Linked DNA regions of Homo sapiens: region 1 is linked to region 2. Evidence: promoter capture Hi-C in human tissues and cell types (Jung and others, 2019). All regions are on one chromosome and are shown on one strand. Each heading gives the region's core, a stretch centred on a gene start or on the middle of the fragment in contact. The rest is flanking DNA. Distances are from core to core; before and after follow the strand shown. Region 1 has its middle 8.9 kb from the start of LINC02856. Region 2 holds the start of PPP4R1 (protein phosphatase 4 regulatory subunit 1).

The links. Contacts are between HindIII fragments. The study calls those that stand out against the background at their distance.
Region 1: a contact is called between a fragment that was not itself captured here and the fragment with the promoter of PPP4R1 in region 2, in 1 of the 25 tissues and cell types used here (IMR-90 fibroblasts).

The regions. Positions count from the first base shown.
Region 1 is chr18:9,651,866-9,658,183 of GRCh38, reverse strand. No RefSeq gene overlaps it. Among named protein-coding and RNA genes, the nearest start is that of LINC02856, 8.9 kb to the right of the region's middle. The HindIII fragment of the contact is 9,508 bases long and covers 1-6,318 here.
Region 2 is chr18:9,608,460-9,615,808 of GRCh38, reverse strand. PPP4R1 (protein phosphatase 4 regulatory subunit 1) reads left to right here and starts at 1,250. Exons shown (of 20, transcript NM_001042388.3): 1 at 1,250-1,331; 2 at 1,539-1,583. The coding sequence starts at 1,325. It overlaps PPP4R1-AS1 (PPP4R1 antisense RNA 1), which reads right to left and starts at 1,002. Exons shown (of 3, transcript NR_110773.1): 1 at 795-1,002. RefSeq lists silencers at 554-1,063, 1,164-1,433, 1,534-1,783 and an enhancer at 2,054-2,133. The HindIII fragment of the contact is 9,629 bases long and covers 1-4,712 here.

The DNA.
Region 1 (6,318 bases), core at 2,483-4,982, 40 kb before region 2:
TAAGTTGCTGCGTGACTGAGGAATGAACAACTTCCGTCTTATTGCTCAAAAGGAAATTGCTTCTGGACTTCTGCTGTTTGTCCTTCTCTCGGTTGGAAAGCCAGCGTGCCCAGTTTTGACCAGGCTCGTGAAGACCATGATCTAACGCAGGGGTCTTAGAGCCTTTTGTGCCATGAACTGCTTATAGTGTCTGGTGAAACCTATGGATCCCTTCTCAGAAAACTGTTTTTAAGTGCATAAAATAAAATACACCACAAAACATCCACTAGAGCAGACAAAGTTTGAAAGACTGATAATCTCTGGTATTAGTGACAACATGGGACAACTGGAAGTCATACATTGCATGCTGGTAAGAGTATAGCCTCACTCAACCACCTTGAAAAATAGCTTGGCGGTCTCTACTGAAACTAAACATATGGCTACCCTGTGACCCAGCAATCCCAGCCACAGCTTTATACCCAAGGGAAATGCATTCATGCACATGCCAAAGATGTGTGTGTGCATGTATATATATGTGCATGTGTGTGGAATATATATATATGTTATGTATGTATTATATTACATATATAATGCAATATGTGTTATATATGTAATATAATACATATATAATGCAATGTGTTATATATGTAATATAATACATATATAATGTCTGTATTATATGTAATACATGTTTTATATATGTATAAGAATGTCCACAGAGTGTTTGTAATAGTAACAACAGGAAATGGCCAGGTGTGGTGGCTCACACCTGTAATTCCAGCACTTTGGGAGGCCAAGGCAGGAGGACCATTTGAGTCCACGAGTTCAAGACTAGCCTGGGCAACATAGTGAGACCCCATCTCTACTTTTTAAAAATAAAAAAAAAATAAAATGAAAACAGGAAACTATCCATATGTCCACCAGTGGAAGAATAGACAAATAAATTGTGTCTATTCACAAAATGGAATACTACAAACAATAAAAGGGAATCAATTGCCAATACACAAAAACTTGAGTGCATCTCACAGGAATTATGTGGAGTGAAAGAAGCCAACACAAAAGCATACGCATTGCATGTTTTCTTTTTTTTTTTTTGAGATGGATTCTCATTCTTCTCACCCAGGCTGGAGTGCAATGGTGCGATCTTGGCTCACAGCAACCGCCGCCTCCCAGGTTCAAGTGATTCTCCTGCCTCAGCCTCCCAAGTAACTGGGATTACAAGTGTGCGCCACCACACCTGGCTAATTTTTGTATTTTTTAGTAGAGACGGGATTTCACCATGTTGCCCAGGCTGGTCTCGAACTCCTGGCCTCAAAGAGATCCACCTGCCTTGGCGTCCCAAAGTGCTGGGATTACAGGCGTGAGCCACTGTGCCTGGCCCTGGGTGTCTCTCTCTCTCTCTCTCTCTCTCTCTCTCTCTCTCTCTCTCTCTCTATATATATATATATATATATAAAATTTTTTTTTTTGAGATGGAGTCTTGCTCTGTTGCCCAGGCTGGAGTGCAGTGGCATGATCTCGGCTCACTGCAACCTCTGCCTCCCGGGTTCACGCCATTCTCCTGCCTCAGCCTCCCGAGTAGCTGGGACTACAGGCGCCTGCCAGCACACCTGGCTAATTTTTTGTATTTTTAGTAGAGACGGGTTTTCACTATGTTATCCAGGATGGGTGTCTATATTTTAAACAGGCTTCTCACGTGACTCTGAGGCCTGTGCAGTGTGAGTTTCTCCCCTGACTTACAAACAAGAATTTCTGGGGAATTGGTTGTCAGGAATTGTGTCCCAGCCTTGTCTCGGTTAAATCAGAATTCTTGTTGATCTGTCAGGGATTTCCTTTGACTTTAAAAATTAACATGCAATTAATTAAAATTCATAAAAACCTAGTTCTTTCTTAAGCATTTAAGTTCAATTCTCATATCTTGAACCTAGGAGGCGGAGGTTGCAGTGAGCCAAGATCATGCCACTTCACTCCAGCCTGGGTGACAGAGCCAGACTCTGCCTCAAAAAAAAAAAAAAAAAATATATATATATATATATATATATATATACACACACACCCCACCTCCATTCCAGACTGAATCAGGGATCTGGGGATGAAGCCTGGGAACTGTGGGGTTCTTCTTCTTCTGTACCAAGGATGAGGAGACGTTGGTGCTTTGAAGGGTTTCATATTAATTTCATTCATCACCATGCTTTCAGCGAGGAACTTAAAATGCTTTACATAACGTACCTGATTCATGCTAGTATGTGAATACAATTATCTCTCAGTATCCATGGGAGATTGATTCCAATAGGTAACCCAAAATCTGAGGATGCTCAAGTCCCTGATATAAAATGTCGTAGTATTTGTATATAACCTATGTACACTTTATAACCTCCCGTACACTTTACGTCATCTCTAGATTACTTATAATACCTAATGCAATGCCTAGACATCACTTCATTCTCATGGAGTTAACGTAGTATTTGGTGTGGCAAATTCAAGTTTTGCTTTCTGAAAATTTTTGGAAGATTTTTCTTAAATATTTTCAATCTATGGTTGGTTGAATTCACAGATGTAGAACCCACAGATACAAAGGGCCAACTGTATATGGTAATAATAACTCCAGGCATAGTGGACTTACAAATGTCTCCATGGCAACAATTCACTCTCTGGTTTCCATGGTGAGGTTTATAAGGACCCTCAAATTTACTTTATTTAAAATTCTAAATTACTTTGCTGTTGATCAGACATACATAAAGAGCTATGTTTTAAAAATAACTCTCTAGTATTGTTTCAGGACTCCTATAAAGAAAGAAAGGAAAAAAAAGGAAATGGAAGAAAAATAATAGTAATAAATCAGTACCTCCCATGAAAGCTCCTGTTATGTGGCAATGAATTAGAATATCAAGGTCAAACACTGTAAAACTGAATTAAACAGCCCACATAATTTCTCCATCTGACTCCCATTTGTCAGAATTCATTTTTGTATTAATACAGAAAATGAATCATTGTTCAAACAGGCATCATTTTTATGAATTAAAAATGCATAAATCAACTGAATGTCCTTTATTCAGGAAACATTTCTCTTTATACGTTGTGCAGCTTACACAGATGTCTGATCACGGGAGAACTGACTGACAAAATGTTGATGAGTCAAACTGTCATTCCCCAATAGGGAGAATGCCTCACAATTAAATACAAGATTTAAGAAGATGAGTTGTAACACTAATTGTTCCTTCAGAAATGTCACAAAGGAAGCACATCATTTTTTTTCCCCTTTTGTTGCGATTTGGGAAGAACAAGGGCCTGGGAAAAGTGCTTGTACAGTCCTTCCCTCAAGCAAGGGGCCTGCATGTCATTGGGTTCTGGGACTGGTAGGCTGGGAGCAGTGAGTTTCGCCCCTCATCCTGGGATCTAGGGGGAAGGATGCACCCCTGTTTGCCCCCACTATCTTATCTGGGAGCAATTAGGACATGGCACTACCTGAGCTTCGCTGAGCACAGGATAGTGGCTTATTTTGAATGCAGCCTTAACCATTATCTTCACTGTGTTACTTTATTTTATTTTACTACATCTTATCTTGCTTATACTTTTGAAACAAAGGACTTTCATTCTTTATTATCACGGACTCTAGCCTTGCAACACGTAAGAGACATTGACCTTGTTGAAAACAACTACTGTTGGCCAGGCACAGTGGCTCACACCTGTAATCCCAGCACTTTGGGAGGCTGAGGTGGGCGGATCACAAGGTCAGGAGTTCGAGACCAGCCTGACCAACACGGTGAAACCCCGTCTCTACTAAAAATACAAAAATTAGCCGGACATGGTGGCATACGCCTGTAATCCCAGCTACTCCAGAGGCTGAGGCAGGAGAATTGCTTAAACCCAGGGGGGCGTGGAGGTTGCAGTAAGCCGAGATTATACCACTGCCCTCCAGCCTGGGCAACGGAGCAAGGCTCTGTCTCAGAAAAGCAAAGCAAAACAAAACAAAACAAAAAACTATTGTTGCAAAAGAATTATAAATGTTACCAGTGACGATTTGGAAAGAAACCAGGGTAGGTTCCATTTGGCCCCTCAAAGATCTGCTTCCGAGCCAGGTGCAGTGGCTCACAGCGGTAATCCCAGCCCTTTGGGAGGTCAAGGTGGGTGAATCACTTGAGGTCAGGAGTTTGAGACCAGCCAGGCCAACGTGGTGAAAGCCCCATCTCTACAAAAAAAAAAAAATACCCGGGTGTGGTGATGTGCACCTGTAGTTCCAGCTACTGGGGAGGCTGAAGTGGCAGAATCACTTGAGCCGAGATTGCACCACTGCACTCCAGCCTGGGCAACAGAGCCAGACCTTGTCTCAAAAAAAAAAAAAAAAAAAAAAAAACCTGCTTCCGGTCTAGTGCTCTGACACCGCCTGTATGTCTTTTAAAAATTACTCAGCATCACGAGGCCTCATTTTCTTCATCTGTAAGATAAACTGCAAAATAAATAAATAAATAAATAAATACAAGACAATTTCTAAATTCCCTTCCAGCGTTAGAATTCTTGTCTCTGCTGTCTGTCTCCTGCACCTGGCACAATGCCAGTGGCCATGTTTGTGTTGGACGCTGAGGCCACATCCCTTGGACACATGGTCTTGTGTGGCACAGCTGGTGCCCTGGGGCTGAGTGGAGAACAAGGCCAGGGTTGTGCCGGGTCAACAGCAGTGACTTCCAAGTGTATAACATTGAGTCTGTTACCCGAGAGGCAGCATCACAAGGATCAGGAGTCCACCCCAGATCAACAAGGGAGCTTCCTGGGTAGCCAGAAATCTGGAGCCTGTGGAAAAGCTAAGCTGTAAACTGATGGTGCTAGGAGCATGAGTGCTTCAGTTGCCAGTTTACTTAGACAAATTTCACTGAACAGCATCCAGTCCCTTGTATGGTTCTTATTAAATCAACCACTTCATGCTTGGGATATATTTCGCCCTGGATATTCTTAAAAACGACATTCAATCTCTAATATGCTGTGTGGCAGGTAGAATAATGGCCTCCAGAAATGTCCACATGCTAATCCCTGGAATCTGTGTATATGTTGCATGGCAAGGAAGCATTAAAGTCACAGACGGAATTAAGGTTGCCAATCAGCTGACTGTAAAACAGGAGATTATCCTGGACTATGTTGGCCTAGTGGAATCTCAAGAGTCTTTTAAAGTGGAAGGTGGGCAGATGAAACAGGTCAGAGGCAGAGGGAGACTGGAAGATGCTGCACTGCTGATTTTGAAGATAGAGGAAGGGACCACCAGCCAAGGGATGCAGGTGGCCTCCAGAAGAAGGCAAGGAGACAGATTCTCCCCTGAGCCTCCAGAGTGAGCTCAGCCCTGCCCGCACCTTGGCTTTAGCTCAGAGAGACCCATTCCAGACTTCTGGCCTCCAGAACTGTAGGAGGATAAATGCATTTTACTTTAAGCCACTATGTTTGTGGTAATTTTTAACAGAAGCAATAGGAAATTAATAGATACTGTGTATTCTAATGTCAGAGTCTAGATTACTATGATAATAAAAAATACAAACAAAAGGAAAAATATACAAATTTTTAAAAGTGAAGTAAAATAAAATGCTTCAGAGATTTACTATAATGAGTTCATTAAGATGACTGGAAATTGATACATTCAAAGCAAAAGAAATAGTAAATTAAAAATTCCAGAATAAAACTACAAAGAAATGAAATGCACGTTATTCTTGTGAGTTGAAAATGCGCAATTGTTTTTTTTCTCCTTCAGAGTCACTGTGAACTGTGAGCTCCAGTTAATCATGGAGACTTGTCAGGGGAGGGTGGGAATTATGCACCAAGCATGAAATTGGGTTGAACCTGGGAGTTGCTTAATTGCCAGATTCCGTATTCAAGGGAGAAGTCAGAAGACCAGAAGCACATGGGTAGTAAGTCCTCTGCAATGCATCTGGCCAAGCAGGTATGGGAGGTCGGATAAAGACTATGAGTCAAGAAGGAGGTCAGGCCGGCACGGTGGCTCACGCCTGTAATCCCAGCACCTTGGGAGGCTGACATGGGCAGATCACGAGGTCAGGAGATTGAGACCATCCTGGCTAACACAGTGAAACCCTGTCTCTACTAAAAATACAAAAAATTACCTAGGCGTGGTGGCGGGCACCTGTAGTCCAAGCTACTGGGGAGGCTGAGGCAGAAGAATTGCTTGAACCTAGGAGATGGAGGTTGCAGTGAGCCGAGATCATGCCACTGCACTCCAGCCTGGGCAACAGAGCAAGACTCTGTCTCAAAAAAAAAAAAAAAAAAAAAGAACCAGGTCATACAGGAGTCCTGAAGCTCAAGGTAGGGGCAGGAACTAGAAGAGGATAATGACAGCAGACAAGG
Region 2 (7,349 bases), core at 1-2,500:
CAACACATTGTCCTTGGTCAAGACTACAACGTAGAAAGGAACAAGCTAATTAACTACTTAGAATTCCCTCTCCTAAGAGACCACATCGCCAAAGTGGCACCATGACACAGCTTGGTGTTTTGTTGGTCACTTTAGGAGAACACCATTTTGGAGGCCTTGGGTGGAGCTGGAGATAGAGCCATGGAGGTAGAATCGTGTCGGAAAACCTGGGTTTAGCCCCATTTTGTACTTGGGCGTTTGAGCTAATCGCTTAAGTCACGTAAAACAACAAGACTAATAAAGTCTGGGATACAGACTTTAACACCTCAAGTGCTGCCAAAAGTATTTAGAAGACAAAGCGAATCATAGGCACCCTTCACCGAGCACCTCCTAGACATCAAGAACCATGCTAGGTTCCCTACATTCTTCATTTAATGCCAATAACCCCACGAGGCAGTTATCACCTTCATTCTACAAATGGGCCCCACTCCTACCAATTAACTGGCTGAATCAGGATCTGACCCCGGGCCTGCCAACGCTCCCGCTGGTGGATTGCCCGCCTTGTCAGCTCGAGTTGGCAGGACGTGGGAGTAAAAACCCGGCGCCCCAGCCTTCACCGTGCTGCACGAGGAAGCTGGCTAGGCAGGCATGACTTTGTCAGTCAACCATCCCGCAGCCGGGCCCTGGGCTTTGTTAGCAGCCACTTGGCGAGGGCCCCGGGCGGGTGGGGAGGCGGCGCTTCCTCCAAGAGGAGGTGGGACCCCGGCCCCGACGACCTCGGAGCCGCCCCCGGCCCCGGATCGCCGACGACGTACGTGCAGGCCTGGGGATGGGGCGCTGGCTGCGAGCGGCGCGCCCGCCGAGATGGCTGCGGCTGGCAGGGCGGTGGGCGAGGCCGGTGACCCAATAAAGCGGCCGGGCCGCGGGAGGCCCCGCCCGGCCGGGTTCCGGCACTCGCCGCAGGGTCCCGGCCGGCGGCAGGTTGCGCGCCCCCGTCCGCAGCGCTCGGCGTGAGGGCGGCTCGGGAGGAGGGTGTGAGCGCGCGTCGCCGGGCCGGGACCCGGCAAGCAGCGGGAAAGGCGGGAGGCGGGAGCGCCGGTCGCCCGGGAGCCGCGCGGAGGGGCAGGCGGGGCGGGGCGGGGCGCGGCCGGGGGCCCGGGCGGCCGGGAGCCGCGCCGCCCGCGGCAGGCCCGGGCCCTCGGCCCGCCCCGCGCGCGCGCCCCCGCCAGCCCGGCCCTCCTCCTCCCCGCCGCCCCTCCCGCGCGCGTCCACCGGCTCCCCGGCTCGCGCCGCTCCATGTAGCCCCGGCTCCCCGGGCGGCCGCGGAGGAGGGGGCGACCACAAGATGGCGGGTACGTGGCCCCCTGTTCTCCGGGCGGCGGCGGCTCCTCGAGCCCACCCGCCCTCCGCCGCAGCCCTGAGTGGCTGCCGGGCCGGGGCCGGCGTGGGGTCCCGGCGCGGGAAGGCGCCCCCGGGGCGGGGGGGAGGCGGGCGGGGGGGGGGCGTCGCGCCGGGCCCCGGGGCGCTGACCGGGCCTTTCTTCTCTCCCCTCGGCGCAGACCTCTCGCTGCTTCAGGAGGACCTGCAGGAGGACGCAGACGGATGTGAGTGGCCCGGCCTCGCGGTGGCCTGGCAGTCCGCGGGGAGCGGCCGGGGAGGGCGGGCGGCGGCGAGGCCTGGGCCGGGCCCTGGCTGGCTGAGGGGACGGTGGGCGAGGGCGGCCCCAGGCGGGCTGGGGTGGCGATCGGGGGGGAAAATCTCGCGTCCGTGAGGAAACGGCGCGCCCAGGTTCCGCTGGGGGAGGGAGACGCCCGGAGTAACGCCCAAGTTCGCTTTCCGCCCTTCGCTCTCTTCTCCCGGCGCCCCCGAATCGCCTGCGGGCTCAGCAGTGGCGCGGCTGTTTTGGAAGGAGAAGCGGTGGGGCAGGATTTGAAGTGGGGTTTGGGTGTGTTTCTGCCCCTGGTGTCCCCTTCCCCCGTCACTCTAGGAAGGAAGAGGCTCGCGCGGGAGGTGTGTTTCCTTAGAGTCGCTCTTCCAGGAGCGCCCGGGGGTCAGCCTGGGCCCCGGCTAGCCGTCTGGGCTCCCCGACCCGGTTTTGGATTGTTTGAGGATGACATACCTGTCATTTTACTTTGGCTGGTAGCAGTTTTCAGATGCTCCCGATTTGATTAGTGGATTACGAGAAGGTTAGAAGGTGTGGCCTCCGCAGGAATTACTAGGTTTGGAGAGCATATTTCTTTAATGCGGATGTTCAGAAATCACCCAGCCCTCCTTCAGTGTTAACAGTGCAGCTTTCCTTTGAGGTACTGAAGTTTTTAAAGAGTTGACGCTTTTATTTTTAAAAAGACAAAGTTTCTGACATTTCCTGATGGCGACGGAATTGATATTTAGAAAGGAATTTTTCGTCTTATATGTACTTTTCTAAGCCTCAGAAAATAATTTGGGTCACGATAGAAAAGACAAAAGAGTTAAGCAGGTTTGTATTGAAAGAAGTGACAAATTGCAGTTAACTTAAAATAGTTTCTATTCTTGCTAATCTTCCAAAATAGCGACCCATCAAAAAATCAATAGGTTTTGAGATGCATTTTAAAAATGCAGAGTGTGCAAAATATATAAGCGAAGATCATGGGATACATAAGGGACCAAGAAATTGTTCTGAGTTGAGATGATAACCATAGTAGGATTGTGGTCTGTTTAGTGGAAAGCCTACCGGATGCTGAGATTGACTGTCTAGTACCTGTATAAGTAATTTCAGAGATGGCTGCAGTTTGAAATTACTCTTTTAAATACTCTGTAGTTAATCCTTAGCATTGTCTAATGTGGTTCCCTTACTCAGAGTAAACTTAATTTTTAGATTCCTGGTTGTTTTGAGTAAAGTAAGGGGGATTTACTATTTAGATGGATTATCTGAAACGAGTAATTTATCTTTAAAGTAAATGAACCACATCCAAACTTTTGCTAAGTCTGTGTTTTTAGTGAGGTGGCTCAAAACAGCTCTCTTAAAGGGAGCAGTACTCATGTAGTGAAGGGCAGCTTTAACATTTTATTTAATGTTTACCTTAAGCCACTTATCTGCCTAATAGTAAGTTTGAGATATTATTTAAGGCATCTGTTGATTTCAGATCTCTTGCCAGGTTAGGATTGGAGAAATGGCCCTGATTATGTTACCTCGAGGAGGGCTTTTTATATTTATGTTCGACTTCGTAAATAGAAGATTCATTTATTCAGCAAGTATTTATGACTGGAGCAAAAACTTCTCACTCCTGAAGGATGAAATGCAGTCTCAGTTTCTTCCTTAGCCCCCAAGAAGCACAGTGTAGAGGGGAAGGCATACCTGTGAAAAATTCAACCATGAGTTTCAACACTCTGCCAGGTACTGGGGATGGAGCTTTGAGAAAGATGGGCACAACCCATGCCCTCTAGTGGTTTACAAGCAGTTTTGAATCTAGGTGTACAGTACAGTATTACAGTTACCACTGGAGCCAGGCTGCTCTGTTTGTCTTAGCAGTGTCTTTTTGGGCAGACTTGGGCAACTCACTTAACCTCCCTATGCCTCAGTTTTGTCATTTGTAAGTAGGCATAAGAAATATTACCTACTTCATAGAGTTGTTCAAGGCTGTACATGAGTTAGTGCCTCTGAAGCACTTGGAACAATTCCTGGTAAACAGCGATGATTATGATTATGTTTGCTGTTATGAGAAAAGAGCAAGGGAAGCTTAAAAGAAGAGCAGAGAAGGAAACACTGATGTTGAACCTTACAGAATGAAGGTACTTAAAGATGCTGCCAATGCTCGCAACTAAATTTTTTTTTTTTTTGAGATGGAGTTTCACTCTTGTTGCCCAGGCTGGAGTGCAAAATGGCGCGATCTCGGCTCACCGCAACCTCTGCCTCCCGGGTTCAAGTGATTCTCCTGCCTCAGCCTCCCAAGTAACTGGGATTACAGGCGTGTGCCACCACGCCTGGCTAATTTTGTACTTTTAGTAGAGACGGGGTTTCTCCATGTTGATCAGGCTGGTCTCGAACTCCCGACCTCAGGTGATCCACCTGCCTTGGCCTCCCAAAGTGCTGGGATTACAGGCGTGAGCCACTGCGCCCGGCTGCAACTAACTTTTTAAAGATTCTGTTTCCTGTGCATTTTAATTTAGGATAAAACAGACATTGAAGGCACAATAGTTATTTGCATATTCATAATTTGGTTGAAGGCTTTGTTAGAGTAATTGCTTATTTTTCTCAGTTACTAAAGTTTTTACAGGTGATACCTTTACCCAGAATATTCAGGAACAAAGGACTTTTGGACATATGGCCAGTTGAAGGACCACTTCCCATCTCTTGTGAAGGGAGAAAGAATGAGGGGGAACACTGGGCCATGGTGCCTCCTTAGAGAGCAAGATGGTTGGTAAAGGACTGAGACAGCTGTCACATCCTGGAGAAGCTGGAGAAGGTAGAGGACCCAAAGGTAGAGGAACGGAGCTTGGGCTGCCCTTATAACACGGTTGTTATCTCGTGAGCCTGAGTTTCTCTGTCTATGGTAAAACTCCAGAGTATGGAGCCCAACCTCCAGAGTAGTTGTAAACAAGTCCTACTACTTCAGCCAAGCTAGGTGTAAGTTGGCCCTTGGGATGGGAAGAAATTGTTTTCTGGTCAAGCTCTAGAATCTTGGTTGACCTTCCTAAATGCAGAACCTGGACTATGAGGGAAGAGACAGTAAGTTCTGTTGTGCAGATGATCTAGGAAAGGACCTAGCTGGAGTCTAGGACTTGAAAGAGGGGCATTGCCAGACATTGCTAAGAGTCTCAGGTCTTTCGATTTGATTTGTTTTAATCCCGTCTCTGTACAGAGGCACAGAGTCGGGGAAAAGGTTGGTCAAAGACTGACTTGACTGATAACCTTTGGAGGAAAAAAAATCCTAATGAGGGAAAAATGGATGGTATTTGTGTGTGTGTGTGTGTGTGTGTGTGTGTACACATAATTTCATTGAAGGAGTTTCATTAGAACTTAAACTTTTATCAAGTAACTTATAAAGGTAAGTAAATGAAATCATTATCAGGTACTCTTAAATTTAGGAGAATAGGCTGGGTGCAGTGGCTCATGCCTGTAATCCCAGCACTTTGGGAGGCCGAGGTGGGCGGATCACGAGGTCAGGAGATCGAGACCATCCTGGCCAACATGGTGAAATGTCTACTGAAATACAAAAAAAAATTAACTGGGCGTGGTGGCGTGCACCTGTAGTCGCAGCTGCTCAGGAGGCTGAGGCAGGGGAGTTGCTTGAACCCAGGAGGTAGAGGTTGCAGTGAGCCAAGATTGTGCTACTGCACTCCAGCCTGGCGACAGAGCAAGACTCCGTCTCAAAAAAAAAAAGTTTAGGAGAATAATGCAATAAAAACCATATGTATTTAAGTTTAAAAGTGAAACTTTCAGTACTGTATCATGAAATACTTTGAATTTCAAATTGAAAGCAAACCAGTGACTCCATTTGAACATAGGTTATCTCAGCAGATTTCAGAGTTGGGTAAACCCTTTTTAACTTTTTATATTTAATTATGTTCCTTAAATAATGGGAGACAATACAAAATTGTAGATGTTTAGAAAAAATTATTTCAGATTTCTGTTTTAGTTTCCAAAGATGCAATTTTGATTCACATTTAAGTTGGTAGATTCCTAAAATGAAATGAGACTAAGATACGGTTAAGATTTGATGAGCCAATGCTTGTAAAAATAATTTCATTGAAGGAGTTTCATTAGAACTTAAGCTTTTATCAAAGTAATATGTTGAAGAATGTTATTTTTAAAGAATGGCTATGTAACGCTTAGTTTACAGTGCCTTTCATACACAGGTTATTCTTCACAGCAGTCCTGTGATGTGTAGGCTGTGGTATTCTAATACTAATAAGTAAGTTGACTAATGCCCAAAGGGACTAAAGAAACAAAACTCCTAAGTTTAGACGGAATTTTAAGCTAGGCCTTCTGATTCTAAATATCATATTTTGAATATTTTCTTAAATGGCCCAGTTTAAAATATTGATCAACCCAAACTTGTACAGGCAATTTCTTTGAACTCGTTCTTAAAGTACCCTTGAAAATTAATCTGGGATGCTGCATGTGGTTTAGTTTACACCTGGAGAATGATAGAGAGGATGGAGCTTGGGTATAAGACAGCTTATTTAGTCGTTAACTTTTATCTCAGCTGTAACTAAGTATGACGTTGAAAAGTTTTTGAAGCTATGTTATTGAGTATGCCATACAACAGACTTTTTTCATATTTAAGTTTTGGAATCCTTTTACATTATGCTGTTTTTCGGGTTTAAGGGCGGTGTTGAAGTAGAGTGAAGGATGGGTCCAGAACTAACTGAGGGTAACCGCCTAGACCGCACTCTGTGCAGAATCTTCAGGCCTTCCTACCATGTTTCAAAACCAGTTCTGATAAGCTTAGAGTCCTTGCTTCCGGTGGGAGGTGAGGAGCAAAATATTGGGGCTGTATCTGGTAGTGGCCAGGGAATCATTCAGAAACCTTTGGAAGGTGCCCTTGAACGTGAATCATATTTAGGAGTATTGTTAAATAGGGATTTGGGAGGGTGAGTCGTGAGACCTGGTAGCCTGTTTTGACTGCTGCCAACAAGCCTGGATGGAGAGATCTTTATTTAGAGATAATATCATTGATATCTTAGAAAAGAGTGCTTTTAAAATGGTTTCAGTGGTACCCACATGTGTGTTGGATCAATTAATGATACCTCTGCTAACAACTTCCCACATAAAATTGAAAGAGAGAGAGAGAGAGACAGAGAGAAAAACCCCTTTGTAAATATGCTTGGGCCTGTAGCTACACGATCCACTGCCCTCCCCCCTCCAAAAAATAAAAAACCAAGACACCTAAATGCATACTTTTTGTTTGTTCCTGCCTGTGAAAGATAAATAGACCTCAGGAGGTAAAGTTCAGAAGTCTGCTGCCACATTTGTTTGATCTCTGGTTTATTATTTCTGGTCCTTTTCTCTCAGTCTCCTCAAAACAATGAATGTATGTTTATTAAACTATTGTTACCTTGCTCCTATGTTTGTATTACATCTTTTTTTTATATTTTGGAGTAAAAGAATTTGAAAGTTCCTAAATTTGAATTAGAGTTGTGTTGTTGTTTTTAAATTGGAGCTGAGAATAAACCTAACTTAGTGTTTTGGGCAGAAGTCTGGATGGCACACCTATGGAATTTTGGCTGAGGAGGTATTCCCTCTAATTTCTATAAGAGGGTCTGGAACTTGCTCTGCTTTTAGCACAGATCTTTGAGCTGGTGACATCATCAATGCTGCTTCCTCCACATTCATTTCTTAACTCTCCTAACTTTTAAGTCATCTTAGCTTCTTATCTCCCTAGACTAAG